Linked DNA regions of Homo sapiens: region 2 is linked to region 1. The links are contacts of gene promoters, found by promoter capture Hi-C in human tissues and cell types (Jung and others, 2019). All regions are on one chromosome and are shown on one strand. The core of a region is centred on a gene start or on the middle of the fragment in contact, and the rest is flanking DNA. Distances in the headings are between cores, read along the strand shown. Region 1 holds the start of TMEM240 (transmembrane protein 240). Region 2 holds the start of MIB2 (MIB E3 ubiquitin protein ligase 2).

Evidence for each region. Contacts are between HindIII fragments. The study calls those that stand out against the background at their distance.
Region 2: the fragment with the promoter of MIB2 here is called in contact with the fragment with the promoter of TMEM240 in region 1 in 1 of the 25 tissues and cell types used here (adrenal gland).

What each region holds. Positions count from the first base shown.
Region 1 is chr1:1,538,991-1,541,928 of GRCh38, reverse strand. It overlaps TMEM240 (transmembrane protein 240), which reads left to right and starts at 1,305. Exons shown (of 4, transcript NM_001114748.2): 1 at 1,305-1,639; 2 at 2,139-2,245. The coding sequence starts at 1,583. SSU72 (SSU72 homolog, RNA polymerase II CTD phosphatase) reads left to right here. Exons shown (of 5, transcript NM_014188.3): 5 at 1-256. RefSeq lists a silencer at 2,426-2,720. The HindIII fragment of the contact is 20,414 bases long and covers 1-2,938 here.
Region 2 is chr1:1,614,101-1,616,804 of GRCh38, reverse strand. MIB2 (MIB E3 ubiquitin protein ligase 2) reads right to left here and starts at 1,305. Exons shown (of 20, transcript NM_001170687.4): 1 at 1,172-1,305; 2 at 191-297. RefSeq lists silencers at 371-460, 491-1,540 and an enhancer at 1,641-1,810. The HindIII fragment of the contact is 4,042 bases long and covers 1-2,704 here.

The DNA.
Region 1 (2,938 bases), core at 56-2,555:
AGGAGATGCCAAAACGCCAGATGAAAGCAATCAAGTTTCTTCTTTTCCACTTTTACTTATGAGCAGGATATTGATTACAAAGTTTTTCTTCTTTAACCAAAAAGGAAAGACAACGGTTTGTGTGCACTTCCCGACATACCTGTGTCTTCGTGTGCCTGCCTTCCCTCCCTCCTCCCCACCGGGCCGGACTGTACAGAGCCCTGCTGCGGCGTGTTAGGAATGACCTGGAATTGTCAATAAACAGATGCTGCTGTCATTGTGCCTGGTCCTGAATTCCTGGCCCGACCCTCGCCCCTGAGGAGGTGGCAGAGGCCTAGCCCTGCCGCCCTCAGTGACCTCCGACCACTGCTTGGGAGGAGTAGCTCAGACCTGGTGGTGCTGACAGGGTCTGGGCCTACCCGTGCCTGTGCTGCCTGAAGCGGAAGCCGCCTGCTCCTGCCACAACTGCTGCCTGTGGTGGAGCGGCGTCCCCTCTCCATGTGGAACCCCCCCGGGCGGGGATCCCCCAAGGCCAGCTACGGGGGAGGCTGAGCCGGGAGGATCGCCTGAGCCCAGGAGTGGAGGCTGCAGTGAGCCTGGATGGCGCCACGACCCAGGCTGGGTCCCAGGCATAGCTTCCCGCTGACTTCCTGCTGAGGCCGGGGGTCGGCTCCCGGGCCTGAGACATGGTCACCGGTCGTGGATGAGAGTTTGGCCTCAGGACCCCGAGCCAGGGACAGCCACAGCGGAGTGGTGGCCACTGGGCCTCTGAATGGCCGGCGTCCCGACCCATGGGCCTGGGCTGACCCCCTCGTCCCCGCCCTAAGGGAAGCCTGTGCGGGGCGGCCCTGCCCTCGGCTCCTGTGCCACATCCCTCCGTTGAGGATTCCAGGGGTCATCCCGTCCCTGACCTGTGGCCCCCACGGCCGTGGGGCTGTCGCGACCTTGCGGACCCCACCCTGGAGGCACGTGCGTGCCGAGCGGACTGGGGCAGTCCCGCACCCGGCGACCTGGGAGTCCAGGACGTAGGGCGGAGCAGTGGGGCGGGAAGGGCCTCGGCGCCCCTCCAGGACCGGAGGACTGGCGTCCAGGGTCACCGGACAGGCCACCGGGGCTGGGTCTGACCAGACTGGGGCGGGACGCGAAGCCGAGGCTCCCGGGGAGGGGTCCCGGCCGGCGTCCGGGGGATGGCGGTCTCCTCCCGGCGCTGGCACGGGGCGGCCTGCGGTCTGCGCGGTCCCTCCCGAGAGGCGGAGGAAGGCGGCGGGGAGGGAGGGGGGAGGAGGGAGGAGGAGGCAGGGAGGGGGCCGGAGCCGAGCGGAGCCGAGTCGAGCCGAGCCGAGCGCATCGCAGGGAGGACCCGAGGGCGGAGCGGAGCGCGGCGGGCCGGGCCGAGAGACCCCAGAAAGGCCCCGCGTCCCTCCCCGGCGCCCCCCCCCCCGCGCCTCCTCCCCCCGGCCGGTGCCGGGGTTGCAGCGAGCGGCGGCGGACGATCCAGGGAAGCGCTGACCTCTGCGGAGGCGGCGGGGGCTCAGCATCGGGCCGGGGCCGGGGGGGCGCCGGGGCCGGGGGGCGGCGCTCCGGCCCGGCCCGGCCCCGCCCGATGTCCATGAGCGCGAACACCATGATCTTCATGATTCTGGGGGCGTCGGTCGTGATGGTGAGCGGAGGGGCTTCCCGCGCGCGCCCCCTGCTCCCCGCCCGCGCGCGCCGCCTGGCCCACCTCCCGCGCCTTGTTTACCGCCCGTGCGGCCTGCGCTCCCCTCCCCGGCCTGCGCTCCCCTCCCCGGCCTGCGCTCCCCTCCCCGGCCTGCGCTCCCCCACCCCGGCCTCCGCTCCCCTCCCCAACCTGCGATCCCCACACTCCCTACGCTCCTCTCTCCGGCCTACGCTCCCCCCACCCCGGCCTGCGCTTCCCCCTCCCCGGCCCGCGGTCCCCTCCCGGGCCTGCGCTCCCCCCACCCCGGCCTGCGCTCCCCTCCCCAGCCTGCGATCCCCATACCCGCTGCGCTCCCCCTACCAAGGCCTACGCTCCCCTCACCCCGGCCTGCGCTCTCGCTCCCCGCTTGCGCTGCCCCGACCCCGGCCTGCGCTCCCCACCCCCAGCCCCGCTTCGTCCCGCCCGCTCCTTGGCGCTGACCGGTCATGAGCTCTTCCAGGCCATCGCGTGCTTGATGGACATGAACGCGCTGCTGGACCGATTCCACAACTACATCCTCCCGCACCTGCGGGGCGAGGACCGCGTCTGCCACTGCAACTGTGGCCGGTGAGTCCACAACCGGCGCCGGCTCGACACGCGTGAGCGCACATGTGTGGCGGGGCCCACTCGGGGCGCGGGGGAACCAGCCCCACGCAGGCCGCGAGCCGCCTTCCACCCTTGAGGGCTGCCAGGTGCGCAGGGGGAGGAGCTGTCTCAAGGTGGGCGGGGGTCTCCTGGGGGCGCATGGCTTTAGGACGCCGTTCCTAGAGGCCTCCAGGGTGATGGCGGAATGGGTCACGGGGCCTCCTGGTCCAGCCTGGAGGCCGGAAAGCCGCAGCCCAGTGTGATGTCCACAGTGGAGACCCAAGCCAGCCTCATCAGGGCTGGGGCAGGAAGCGCCTGCTGGCACAGGGCTGGGCCCTGCACTGAGTCCCTGGGCAGGGGAATGCAGGTCAAGGCGGGAAGGGCCTGCCTTGAGGGGCACTGGGCACCACCCCCGGGCTGGAGAGGAGCTGAGGGATGGGCTGGGGGGGCAGCGGGGAGGTGGAGCTTCCTCAAGGTCATTCAGATTGAGGGGAGCGCCCAGACCCCCCGCACCCACCGTGTGACCCCCTCTGTGCACGTGTAGCGATGGGATCCTCTTGGCCATGCATGTTTGTACGTCCATGTACGAAATAAACATCTTCTCATGAGACGCGCATGTGTGTGGCGTCTGTGCATATACATGTGCGTACACACAGCCCCCGCGCACGCACGCAT
Region 2 (2,704 bases), core at 56-2,555, 75 kb before region 1:
TGTCTGGCACCTCTGCTTTCTTCCTCCATGGGTTCCGAACTCAGAGAGGAGACGCGGGATTACTCACCACTCCCCTCCACTCGCATGCATGCTCAGACACAAACACAGCCTCTCTGACGTGGCTTCCACGGAGCCCCAAAGTGGGAGAGCCAAGTGCAAACTATCAGGCCGCGGACGATCAAGAGCTCACCTGTCCGGCCGTCCAGTCGCCCGCCGGGCCGCCTTGAGGCTCCTGGGCTGCAGCCCTGATGCCTGGAAACTTTGGGACTGGCCTCTAGCCTCGCTGGGCTTCCAACCCTGTGGCCGAGGGGAGATGCCAAGATGCACAGTTAGCACCTCGACCCGCGGCTCGGTCGCCTGTCTGCCCCCGGGGCTGCCCGCCGGCTCCAGGTCCACTCGGGCCCACGGCCGCGACACTCAGGGCCGCCGCCTGCCCGGATGGGCTCCCTGGGGTCTGAGCGCGCAGGAGCCGCCAGCGCCGGGCCCGTAATTGCGTGCGCCCGGGGTCTGGCGGCCGCGGCTCGCAGACGTCAGGAGGCTCCGGGACGCGCACGGGCGCCGGCGCAGGGGAACGGGCGGGCCAGGGGCGGGCACGGCGGGCACCCCCACCCGGAGCGCGCCCCGCCCCCTGTCATTCGTGCCCGTGGCTCGCGGAGGCCGCCCGGCCCTGTCCGCTGCCAGACCTTGCCAGGGCCGCGCAGTACCTGCCGACCCCAACTTGCCCGGACGTTTCCGTCCCGCCCGCTCCGCTCGGGGGCGCGGGACCGCCGGCCAGTCCGTCTGTCGGTCTGTCCCGGCGTTCGAGGCCACCCACCGGCCCCGACTGCTCAGCGGCGGCCAGGCCAGGCCAGAGCGCCTGCCGCGCGCCGCAGCCCACCCGGCCCGGACGACGACCCCAGCGCCGACCCCAGCGCCGCTGGCCCCGGGCCGCGCGAGGCCTGCCGGGAGCTGGAGTCCCGCGCGGGTGGCCGGACCACAACTCCCAGGAGGCCCCGCGGCGGCGCTGCGCGCGCAGCCCCAGCCCATCCCGTGCGGACCCTACGCCGAGTCCAGCCCGGGGCTGCTGGGCCAGCGGGAGCGGGAACCGGACGGCGCTCGCGTTCTGCCAGAGCGGAGAACGACTCGGGGACGGTGCGGAGGACCAGGGGAGGAGATCCGCGCCCGCACGCACCATCAGCCGAGAGGACGGCCCGCATCGCGCCAGTGACCTAGGAGCGACTCGGGGACGGCTTCGGGCTCCCAGGCCCTCCTGGGCCACCGGGCACTGAGGAGAGCGGCGGCTGGAAACTGTGGGACCCGAAGGGCGGGAGCCCAGGGCCCGCCCCCGCCGGAGCGCCCCCGCCATGGCCACGCCCCCGCCACGGGGATGGGCAGGGCAAGCACCGGAAGTGCGTCACGCGGGAGCGTCTGCGTCGCCTACCCTGCGTGGCGCAGCTAGGTTCCGAGCGGCTTAGCCTCCGGGCGCCTGCGCAGTGGCGGTCCTAGAGACGCACTCGGTTGCCATAGAGACGGGGGCTTGGGAGCGACGTCGCGCTCGCTGGCACTGGCGGCACTTGCCGCGCCGCAGCCACCTCTTTCCGACTCCACCAGTGCGGGCCCTATCCGGGGTTTTGAGTCACGCAGACCTGGACACAGCGAGAAACGGCAGTCCGGGCCCGTCCTCCCGCCCCGGGTTCTGCACCCCAGAGTTGGACGCTTGCTTCTCGCTTTCTCCTGAGAGAAGTCTCCGCGTTTCTGAACAATGCACTGCTAGTTTCTCATTTCTTTCTTTCTTTCTTTTTTTTTTTTTGGAGACGGAGCCTCGCCCTGTCGCCCAGGCTGGAGTGCAATGGCGCGATCTCGGCTCATTGCAACCTCCGCCTCCAGGGCTTAAACTATTCTCTTGCTTCAGCCTCCCGAGCAGCTGGGACTACAGGCATGCGCTACCACGCACAGCTAATTTTTGCATTTTTAGTCAAGACGGGGTTTCACCATTTTGGCCAGGCTGATTTCGAACTCCTGACCTCGTGATCTGCCCTCCTAGGGCTCCCAACGTGCTGGGATTATAGGCGTGAGCCACCGCGCCCGGCCTCTCATTTCTTAATTGTAGACATTGCGTACTTCCGGAGAAGGTCCCTGAGAACCTGGCTGATCTTCCCCGCTGCACCCCTCACGTGGTCCTGTTAGCTCCCAAACTGTCAACCTGAAAGGAAACCCAGAGGCAGGCTCTCCAGGACAAGTGAGTTAATCTGGGAATCGCAGGGGGTTGCAGCCTAGGCTGTTCGTGCCATGACAGATCATAGGCCTATCTGAGAGGGCCGGGCGAAGGGGAAAATACAGATGAGCTCACAAAAGTTGTTTTGTAACAAAAACCACTGGCTGTGGGCGCTTGCTGCAGGAGTGGGCGTTAGCTTGTTGTTGGAGAGAGCCTTACCAGGCCGACGTCCTTGTGCAAGCTGCTTATCTAGAATACTGCAGTCCTGAGGAATTTCCCTGCAGTAAGTCCGGTTACAGGCAAACGTGCAGGACGTGCAGGAGCGTCTTGTGAGGAGGCCTGCTGCAGGTATTCCTGCATGAGAGCTCCCCCTTCGTGGCCTCCCGACTCCATTTGTTTAGGGATTGGTGGAAGTAGTTCCATTTTGGTACCTGCAACTTTCACAGCTGTCGTGATGAAATCAGGCTTAGCTCTTCATGATTGAGTACCTGCTGTTCACTGCTACAGTAT